Linked DNA regions of Homo sapiens: region 1 is linked to region 2. Evidence: promoter capture Hi-C in 16 types of primary human blood cells and fetal thymus (Javierre and others, 2016). All regions are on one chromosome and are shown on one strand. The core of a region is centred on a gene start or on the middle of the fragment in contact, and the rest is flanking DNA. Distances in the headings are between cores, read along the strand shown. Region 1 overlaps MYLK (myosin light chain kinase). Region 2 holds the start of MYLK-AS2 (MYLK antisense RNA 2).

What was found. The method cuts DNA at HindIII sites, captures the fragments that hold promoters and counts their contacts. A CHiCAGO score of 5 or more calls a contact.
Region 1: a contact is called between a fragment that was not itself captured here and the fragment with the promoter of MYLK-AS2 in region 2, in 2 of 17 cell types (megakaryocytes and endothelial precursors). The highest score is 6.4, in megakaryocytes.

The regions. Positions count from the first base shown.
Region 1 is chr3:123,649,606-123,655,077 of GRCh38, reverse strand. All of the region lies in intron 24 of MYLK (myosin light chain kinase), which reads left to right. LOC124909421 (a long non-coding RNA gene) reads right to left here. Exons shown (of 2, transcript XR_007096038.1): 1 at 4,953-5,472. Among named protein-coding and RNA genes, the nearest start is that of MYLK-AS2, 37 kb to the left of the region's middle. RefSeq lists enhancers at 866-1,366, 4,495-4,994, 4,995-5,472. The HindIII fragment of the contact is 2,795 bases long and covers 1,758-4,552 here.
Region 2 is chr3:123,685,771-123,691,285 of GRCh38, reverse strand. It overlaps MYLK-AS2 (MYLK antisense RNA 2), which reads right to left and starts at 1,642. Exons shown (of 3, transcript NR_046629.1): 1 at 1,570-1,642. All of the region lies in intron 19 of MYLK (myosin light chain kinase), which reads left to right. The HindIII fragment of the contact is 6,889 bases long and covers 1-4,838 here.

The DNA of each region.
Region 1 (5,472 bases), core at 1,906-4,405, 38 kb after region 2:
ATTATTTCAAGAAGTTTTATGTGAAGAACAGGAAAAGGACATTGTAAATTTAGGATAAGAGGCCGGGCGTGGTGGCTCACACCTGTAATCCCAGCAATTTGGGAGGCTGAAGCGGGTGGATCGCCTGAGCTCAGGAGTTCAAGAGTAGCCTGGGCAACATGGCAAAACCCCATCTCTACTAAAAGTACAAAAAATTAGCTGGGCATGGTGGCATGCGCCTGTGGTCCCAGCTACTCAGGAGGTTGAGGCAGGAGGATCGCTTGAACCCAGGAGGCAGAGGTTGTAGTGAGCCAAGATTGCACCACTGAACTCCAGCCTGGGTGACACAGTGAGACTCCGTCTCAAAAAAAAAAAAAAAAAAAAAGAATTAAAGAATATAGGATAAGAAAAAGTTGGGGGTTAGGAGAAGGTGGAGGGACATCAAGGGAAGAGAGCTCTTGGAGACAGGAGAATGTAGAGTTGTGAGGCAGATGGTAGAAGACTCAAGTATCAAAGGAGACTGAGCTCCACATGCAGAATGTCACTTGAAAACCAAAACTGATCAGTAGGTGAGAATGTATTTGACTTCTTCTAATTACAAGGAATTAGAAATCAAGTGAGGCAAATAGTGAACCTGAGCAAAGCTCAGAAAGCGAGAAAGCGAGCAGGCCTGGCATCACCAGGGAGCTAGAGCCATCGTGAGTATGGAAACTGTCATCTGATTCAATGACCCTGTTTAGTTTTGAAAAAAAAATTGAAAATTAGGTACAAAATAGGTATTAAAATTTTACTTTCAATTAAACAAGGGCTCCAGAAAGAAAGAAAGTTAGGGTACCAATGGGAAACATACCAACTTTACAATTTTATGCTAGCAGCTGTGTGTCAGGCGGCCTTTACCCGTTGAGCCATGTCAATATGCATAGAGCAGGTCTCCTTGAGAGCTATGGTGCAAGTCACGGAGACGTGATGCCTGCTCCTGGGACAGCTTTCGCAGGGATCCCAACCACTAGCCACTCCCAAATGTCTGTCAGGGGACACTGAGTAACAAAACTGCCATCACTGTCTTCTTACACACACACACACACACACACACACACACACACACACACACAACATCCCTCTGAAATGAGCAGAGTGGGGGCTGCATAGAGTGTGGGTCCCAGGGGGGCAATCAAGTTCCAGTCTGTGGTGTTAGGATGTTACTTGGAAAAGTGACAGGAAAAGGAGTAAGATTGCAGTGTGAAGATGTTCATTGGCTGGAAAGGAAATCATCCAGGTCTGTGCTATGGTGTAAAGAGGGAGAGACTGGAGAATCCCCGACTAACCCCAGGCAGCAGGACCAGAGGCCACGGGAGCTACAAGGTGTGGCCCCCAGGGGTCTAGGACAGCTGCTCCCAGGGCTGTGTGGAGACTCTGCCAGGAGGAAGAGCTGTGACTGCCTGTCTGGGGCAAGTGGCCTCTCCCTTGTTCCCTGCCATCAGCCCGCTGAACCCTCTCTGGGCCTTCAGACTCCCCTCCCCTGCTGCCACCCCTCCCAGCTGGGAATAGACAAAGGGCAATGTTGAAATCACTTGAAATCCAGAGGAGGAGTCCAGTCCACCCAGGGCTTCCAGACAGGAAGCTACTCCCCAGCTGAGGCTGGCTGGATTACCAAGGGGGAGGAGGAAGAGGGCAGAACAGTTGGCAAGTGTTAGGCCTCAGGGCAGAGGACTCTGGTTGAGGGGATTCCAGGCAAAAGTCCTCCACGGTCTGCTCAGATGCTTGTTAGTTATAAAGCTTCATAGGCCATCCCTCTGCTGAAGAGGGAAATGGCTCTCAGGGAAGTGGCGTGTGTGTTCACGCACGTGTGTGTGTGTGTGTTGGCAGAGAGGTGGGATCAAGTGACAGGTCATTGTAGGTCATTTCTGTGGAGCAGATGGGGTGGGATCATATTAAAAAGGCAGTGCTGATTAACCCACACTCCATGAAGCCCGGCTAATGTTGGCTCTGACCTTCACCACTACCACCACAGCCACTGCCACTCCTGCCTCTCGCTCTTCTACTTCATTCTCATGCCTCATTTGCATCCCTGTTGGTACCCTAGCCCTCATCCCACATCCACTCACCATGTGTTCTGTGCCCCTCCTGTGTTCTAGGCACTGCCATGGGCACTGGGGATACACTGGGGGACAAAGCATGGGTTCCCCGTGGAGCTCCAGTGGCTTCTCTATGCCAGAGCCACTCCTAAGACTAGGGTCCCTGAACTGACAATGTACTCCCAAACCCAAGTGCACAGAGCCAGAACCTTACCACAGCCCCGCTCCCTCCCAGCCCAGCCAGGTCTTGAACTGTACTCCTCCTCAAATCCTGCTGTCACTCAAATCCACTCCATCCCTGCTCCTTACCCTAATTTGTTCTAGTCTGTATAATTGTTAGCAAAACAGCTACTGTGACTGAGGCTTCTTGCAGAACTGGAGCCTCCTTGCAACCCCCAGGACAGTTCGAGATATAAAGCCTGTACCGCTCCCATCCCAGGCTGCAGCTACGCCCTGGCCTCAGAGGCCGTCTCCGGGGCGGGGGTGCCCTCTAGTGTTCTCTGGGTGTGCAACAGTCCTTGGCTGCAGGAAGGGACAATTCTCTGTCCAGGGGACTGACTGGACTTGTGCCATGTGAGGGTCCTGAGCACTCAGCTGATCCTCTCCCAAACACTCCAGGGTAACGAGACTCTCATCTGTTTGCAGAAATATCTCAGAACCATCTTCCAAATAGCCTTCCACTTAGCTCATGGATCTCATAGCTCATTCTGAACAGATTTTTTTTTTTTTTAAGTTCAGTGGAAGACCCTTCCCTAGTGGAAAGATGGAAACCAGTTCACCTTTCTCAACAACCCTTTATGCACCAAGAGCTCTGCTAATTGAACTGTGGTCTTTCCTCTACTTCTCTCTCACTCCTCCCCTTGTGGTCAAATAGAAGAGAGGCAGGACAAGAAGGGAAAAGCAGAAGGGGATGTAGCAGCCTGGAATCTTTCTCTTTTTTAAAGAGATCGGGTCTCACTCTGTTGCACAGGCTGGATTTGAACTCCTAGACGCAAGCATTCCTCCCGCCTCAGCCTCCCGAATAGCTGGGACTACAGGCACTTGCCACTGCTCCCTGCTTAGTCCGGACTCTTGATCCGAGTTTCCTGCAGCATAAAGGAACACAGTGCACTAGAAAGAGGGGCTGGAATTCCTTGAGAATGATCTAGGTCCTTCCCCCAGAGCATTAGCATGAGAATCAGATCTGCCACAGACCTCTGGGGTGAGAGGCGAAGGTGAGGCATGGATGTGGGCTCATGAGTGAGGCCAGAGGCTGGCCCTGTGGCTGTCTACCTGGACTCACAGTGACAGGCAGGGGCCAGCTCTAGGACTGGATGCCCCCTTCAAGGCACGCAGGGAAAGCCTCCTGCTGCCGGGCCATTGGCAAGACTGCTTCTCCTGACACCAGGCCAGGAAAGCTGCCCTCTCCTTTCCCTCTCACTCTGCTGCTTGGAATACACTGGTCTCCATGCCACGCCGGGAAAATGTGGCACAGGAACAAGAAATAAAGGATGACTCAACTGGTGAACCACTATATCAGGCAGCAGCACCACAGGTCAAGACAGGGGCCTCCCTGACAGTAAATAGGATGATTCTGTGTCGAAGACCTAGTCCAGTGACTGGTCCACCTGGTGTCCCATCACTCATTGACTCCAATATTGTTGCTTCTCTTAAAACCCTGTTTATAATATCATCACTGAACTAACCTAAATGTCTATTGAACATACTTATTATTCTAGTGGTACTTCTCATGTGTGAGTTCCATATCCCTCCAGCCTTCCTCCTACGTGAGGTAGAACACTAAATGGTTCCCCCAAGATGCAGTAGTCATGAGTTGATGAAAAGTCTGAAACTCTCATCTCATCCTTGGCGATTGTGTGATTCTCTTTAAAGTCATGTCCATTTTAGACTTCTTTCCCAACCTCAGAGGCCTCACCTTTTCTGATTAAGACATAGCCCTTCCCTTCAGTGGTCTTGCTTGCCACCTCCAGCTCCATTGTGGCTTTTGGACTGCCGACAGCCAGAGCTCCAGGGCAGGCACCCAGGGCGCTCTCAACAGCTACCCAGTACTCACCCCTGTTTGGGGCCCATGCACACTTTGCCCTGTGACAGCATCTGACAGCCCAAGCAGTAGATTGAGGAGCTGCTGTTTCTGTCTTGGGTATTAACTATGGACTTTAGGGTTCACCACCCTAAAAGGTAGAATGATCAGATTCTCCTGAACACTAACTCCATTCCTGGCTTCTAGTTGCATTGCTCTCAGGTCATCCTTTCCACCTGTGAATTGGACAATGCCACTCTTAACTCTCCAACATGTGGATTTAGGAATATTGACCAGTTAGGCCCACATCCCGACAGTAACCGTGAAACCCACCTCTGATACTTCAGCTAGACTATCTGGGTGTCCCTGTCTATCTCATCCTTTTTTATTTTTCCATGGCAGCTTCCTTTCTGTGATAAAATATACTTTCCAATCCCATTCATGTTTAGTTTTAGTCTTTTTTTAAAAAAACTAAGCTTTGTCAGCAGCATTTTAAGAACTCTAAACACACTCACACTCACACTCACACCGGTACACCCGCACTCACACTCATATGCCCACTCTCTCTCACACACACACACATACACACACACTCACACTTTAAAAATCCTTTTCCTCCCTCTATGCTTTCTCTCCTGTCTTTGTTTTGCTTCCTTGGGAAACCTCCCATTCATTGTCCAGCTGTCAGCCAGGACGCAGCCCAGACGATGGCTGAGGAACACACAGCACATGACGAAGCGTGGCATCCAGAGCTAGCCAGGGCCAGAGACATCAGGTGCAACCCTTCCTCTTACAGATGGGGAAACCAAGGCCCAGGAAGGGAAAGGCAATCAGCCAAGGTCAGGAAGCCAGAGTGGCTCGATTGTCAACAAACAAACCTGTATCGAGGCAAAGGAAGGCCTGGAGCTCTGAAGTGGGCGTGCTGTGCTGGATGCCCCCCTGTTCCGGGGAACCCCTCCTGTTCCCCGGACCCTGTTCACTCCTGACACGGCCATGGGAGCAGCTGGCATGACTGTGTCCCTCCCTGCCCTGCCTCACAAATACCTATTGGTTTCATTTGTGTGACATCACTCACGCCTTCATTGTATTCCATCATTTCCTGTAAGACGCAACTCAAAGGCTATTTCTTCTAAGAATAATTGCTCTCACTTACAATTGCACCATTTTGTGTCACCCTCCTCTGTTGTGTATTCACTTTGAACCATGGTGATATGTGCGTGATTATGGTACACTTTGTAAATTGTTACTTCAAGTATATATGTTTTTGCCTCTTGAACTAAATTATAAGCTATAAGAAAGGAGAGACCATGCCTTCTGTGTAATATGTTTTGAATGCCCACAATAACTGGCATTCAAGATGCTTGGTCCAGTGCTGGGATGCCGTCAACAATGTTCAAT
Region 2 (5,515 bases), core at 393-2,892:
CAGGCTGTCACCCACCCAGATCACAGTCCTGCTTCTTTCTATACAGGTGCTGCACTGTAAAGTATAGCGTTTCTGAAAACATGATCCTTGAAGCCCACGTCTAACACCCCTCTGCTCGTTTGGGACTCACACTGGTTCCCGAGCTAGTGAAGGAGGTTATCGGCTTTCGGAGCCTCTTTAGGTCCTGTTTACATGGCTAGCTGAAGGCAGGAGAGCAATTCATTCTCCCTATCTGTAAAATGTCAGCACCTTTTCTAGATTTGTTTTCAAGATGAAATTTCCTTTTCCCCTACTGAATACACTTGGGGATTTTTTTTTTAAGGTTTGGGGAATTCATTCTGCAACTTAAAAGGCTTTGTTTGCCCAGAGTCTGCTGGCAGATTCCCTTGTCCTCTCCACTAATCTTGATGACCATCATTATTTATCCCTAATTCCTTCAAATGCAGAGTTAGGCCTCCAGCTGCAAATTGGGAGCTGGGTCTTGGAAGAAGAGCTAGAAAAGTGATAGGAGGGAGCCCAGCTGAGATAACAGGACTGACTCTCAGTCCATTGGGTTTGGTTTTGTTGACAGAAAGGATAAGGGTGGCCTCTTCCCCCTGCTTTTCTTTCCCTGTTGCTATACTTACAGATATATTAGCATCCTGTTTGCCCACATTTAGCTTTATTTTTTCATCAAGAGCCTCTCTAGGAAAGTAGTAAAGGACTGTTGTCACTTTGACAGCTCCCCTGTCGCCTTTCTATCGTCTGGTGCTCCACCCCACTGGCTAGGCTACATCTCCTGCCCTCATTCTGTCCCCTCATCCCCTCAGCTCTCCCTACTCCCCAAGGCATCATACTTGACTTGGGGATCCCAGTGGGTTTGTGCCTCCCCTGAAATTACAGGCAAAATGTTGCATTATGTGGGTTGGAGCATCTTTCTGAAGAGAGGGGTCCATAGTTTTTAGTCAAATTCTCAAAAGGAGTCATGAATCAGAATACGTTGAAGAACTACTTGCCGTAAGCAGCAACAATGACTGAATTTTCAAGCCCAGCCATTGTGTGGGCTCTTCCAGCCTGTCTCCAGCTGCAACTGCCCACCCAACCTCTGCATAGAACCAGGCCTTCATCCCTCTTATGGGGCAATGAGGTCCATCTCCACTAGGCGATGGGACTACAGCTGGTGCTGACTTCAGACTGGCTTCCCCAGCCACTCAGCAGGGCTGGCCTGGCCCCTGAAAGTCGCTATCATTCACTCATCCTGTGCCAAACACCATCGAGACCATACATCTGAGGCCAACATATCTTTCAAAATCTCATAAAAATGAGGCAAATGGGGCTAAAATAGCATTACCCACACTACTGATTCCCTCATATCATAAAGATAAGGGATGTAACCTTTATAACACAGCACAGCTGGCTATTTTAATCATGTGTTTGGGTCTTTTTCCTAAGAAAAGGGGTGTTTATGAACTTGCTTGATTATGGTCATATCACCCTTCCTTCTGAACTCAGCAGAAGACAAGGGTTAACTTGTGCCACATAGAAGGGAGCTAAAACCTAGAGTAAACGTGGACTTGCCCGAAAACTCACCCAGGAGGAGAACAAGCTGACCTTCAATGCCTGTCCTGGCCAGAGACTCTTGTGCACTTTGCATTTTCAGTCTATGCAACAGTTGGGCAGGGTGTCTTTCTCAGTGAGCAAACTGAGGCTCACCAAGGGTCAGCTGCCTTCCAGGCCCCACAGACAGTAGGTGTAGATCTGGTGTTGGGGCTCCACCCTGCACAGTGAATTACAACATGAAATATCCTGGCAGGACTCAGTGGTCTGGCTCTGAAACCTGTTCCTTTCCACAGCCTGACACAGCCTCCCCGGGCAGTGAATTACCATGGTGGGGCCCGCTCCCAGAGTGATCCAGACCTCCCTGAGTAACAGTCCTCCCTGTGGGGAGGTCCTTCTGCACGTGGGACTCAGTAACCCCTTTCCTCTCATTCCAACCCAGATGAGCAGTGAGGAAACTAAGTCCTTCCTAGGCCAGAATCCCATGAGAGGACTCAAAAAACACCTTAGCCCCTCACTGGCTCATCCAGTCATTCTCAACTCAGGCCTCCTGTCCCCAGCCACCCTGGCCAGGGCATCCAGCTTTTGGTACCAGTGAGACCAGGGCTTTGTGACCACAGAGGGTCATGCATGATTGTGATGGGAAGGGACACTCCAGTGGGTACTCATGCCATCACTCAGTCATTCAACTAATATCTGAGTGCCCACTCTGTGCCAGGCACTGCCATAGGAGCTGGTTTTAAAACAGTAAATGAAGTAGGAAAAGTTCCAGCTTTTGGGACTTTTCTAGTGGGAAAGAGGCAGTAATGCAGGTGAACAGCTGTGTCATATCCTCAGGTAATGTCACCAGCTATGAAGAAAGCAAAGCAGGGTAATGGGGGAGAGAATACCATTTTTGGAGGGGGTGGTCACTGAGGCCCCTCTGAGGAAGGAACATTTGAACAGAGACTGAAGGAAGCAGGGAAGGAAGAGGGACAAGGTGACAACAAGAGCATAGCCCTGAGCTGAGGACACTGTGCTTAAGGCGTTTCAGGAGGCAGGAGGCCAGGGTGGTGGAGCCATGAGCAAGGGGCAGGATGGTAGGAAGTGAGGTTGAGGAGGACCGTGGACCAGATCCAGGCAGTGTTGGCTAGGACAAAAAAAATGAGATTTTATTCTAAGTGTTATGGGCCAACACTGGACATTTATGAAGGATCACTCATGTCCATGTGATGACCAGACCCAGGATGAGTCAGAGGGAAAGCAGGGAGCACAATGGGGGGTTGCCACAATAGGGACAGGAAGTGATCAGATTCATAACCTCTTTGGCTGTAGAGCTGATATGAGTTGCTGGTGAGCTGGGTATGGAGAGAGAGAGAAGTTAAAGATGACTCAGTTTTCATGGGGGAGTGAAGACCAATGGTGGGGCTGGGGGGCACGATCAAGAGTTTAGTGCATGTGAAGTTTAAGATTGCTATTTGACCTCTCAAGCGGTCCTGTCACATAGGCAGGTGTTTAGGTGAACCTGGAGTTGAGGGGGAGGTCAGAGTTGGAGGTGGGATACAGGGAGCCATCCACACACAGAGGCCATTCACTGCCCTGGGGTTGAATGAGGTCCCTGGAGAGTACAGAGGTGGCTATAAGAAGAGGGAGAGAGAGAGAGGCAGGGGCAGGACAGGGGCCTGCGAAGAAGACTAAGAAGGAAGTACTCCAGTGAGATGGGAAGAAACCCAGGAGATGGGGGTGTCCCAGAAACCAAATGCTAAGAACTTCAAAAAGGAAGGAATGATCAAGATTAGTGTGCCAGGCCAGGTGTGGTGGCTCACACCTGTAATACCAACACTTTGAGAAGCAGGTGAATTGCTTGAGCCAGGAGTTCAATATCAGCCTGGGCTACATGGTGAAACCCTGTCTCTACAAAAAATACAAAAGTTGCCTGGATGCTGTGGGGCATGCCTGTAGTCCCAGCTACTCAGGAGGATGAGCCAGGAGGACAGCTTGAGCATGGGAGGTTGAGGCTACAGTGAGCCAAGATTGTACCACGGTACTCCAGCCTGTGGGACAGAGGGAGACCCTGTCAAAAAAAAAGAAGAAAGGAAGAAAAGGAAGAAAGGGAAGGAAGGAAGGAGGGAAGGAAGGAAAGGAAGGAAGGAATGAAGGTAGGAAGGAAGGAAGGAAGGAAGAAAGGAAGGAAGGAAGGGTCAGGTGCTGCTGCCAAATAAAGATGAGCCTGAGCACTGGCTATTGGGTTTGCCAACATTGAGGTCATTGGTGACCTTGCAAGAGGGCTTCAGGGGAGTGATAGTAACAATAGCCTCATCTCAGGCAAACAGAGACTGAGTCACCTGCTCAAGGTCACCCTAACTAGCAGAGTGGGAAGTTAAACCCAAGCCTTGGTGCCTAACCACTGTGATCCACTGTTATCTTGGCCCCTGGGCACTTCTGATTATTGCTGAGCTGATTTTGATCCACCCCTCCTTTCTTGGCCTCAGCCCTGCCATATTACTAAGTCTGCTCCCACCCCCACATTTATTTATTTATTTATTTTGAGACAGAGTTTCACTCTTTTTGCCCAGGCTGGAGTGCAGTGGCATGATCTCGGCTCACTGCAACCTCTGTCTCCTGGATTCAAGCCATTCTGCTGCCTCAGCCTCCCAAGTAGCTGAGGTTACAGGCACCCGCCAACACGCCCAGCTAATTTTTGTATTTTTAGTAGAGAAGGGGTTTCACCATGTTGGCCAGTCTGGTCTCAAACTCCTGACCTCAGGTGATCCACCCGCCTCAGCCTCCCAAAGTGCTGGGATTACAGGCGTGAGCTACCGCGCCTGGCCCACATTTATTCTTTAAATCATCACAGACAACTAACGGGTATTATGTGAAACTAAATAAAATTGCTGTTTTTGTAGGTCAAAAACACTTCAATACTGGCGAATGGTGTAGTTCAACCTGATCTGAGCATACAAAGTACTTAGCACCGTGCATACATGGAGTCAATACCCAGTAAATGTCAGCCATCACCTTACGACTTGGCCACACCTCCCTCACTCTTCTATTGAGGTGATGTTATTTCGGTTTTCCTTGTGAGGAAGCTCAGACTCAGAAAAGTTCAGGAACTTGCCCAGGGACTCACAACTCCTAAGCAGCAGAGCCAGAAAGCGCAAGCATCCTGATCTCTCTTCCTTACTACGCTAGCACACTGCTTGCACTCAGTCAGAGAGAGAGGCCAGCAAGGAGGGATGAGCCAACCCAGGGAGAGGCTGGAGCCCAGCCCCTCTGCCCTGCCCCACTGGGGGCCCCTAGAAGCTGGACCCCTCCCAGAAGCTTCCCAAGACCTCATGCCCCCTGCGTGGGGTCAGAGTTCAGGGAACCAGCCTCTTGGGGGAGATTAAAAAAAAAAAAACGCTGCCCAGAGAGCTTGAGTCCAGAGCCCAGGAGTGGGAGGGGTGAGGCATTGTCTATATAAGGACACATTTTCCTCTCAATGTAGAGGCCCCCCACTTCCTCACACCTCCATCTTCCTCCCCCACACTTCTTTGGGGACACAAGCAAAGGACTTCAGCCTTGGGGGCCTAGATCTAGAAATGGAGTTTAATTTCATCACAAAATGATTAAAATAGAAAATACAAGCTGCTCTTAAACTTATATTACTATTATTTTTATCCCCTGGGCAGCCATGTGAGCACAAAGCTGGTTTTGATTAGGCACATGGCCCTTCGAGCCCACTCCTTGCTGCAGTTCGCATGGAGGTCTGCTGGCTCCGCATCCCTGGCAGGGCCCCGTGGTGCATGCACAGCCCCACCGTGCTGACACTTCAAGTGGAGCGCGGCCACCCCCTGGGGCTCCGAGTCTGGGGTGTGCCTAGTTTGAAAGGGGGACTTCAGCCCCTTTCCTCATGGCCAGATGGAAAGATAAAGTGCTGCAGAAACTTCTAAAAATAAGACTCAAAGCACATTACAGGGTAGTGTACTGACACGTCCAGTGAAAACCCAGCACCCTAGGG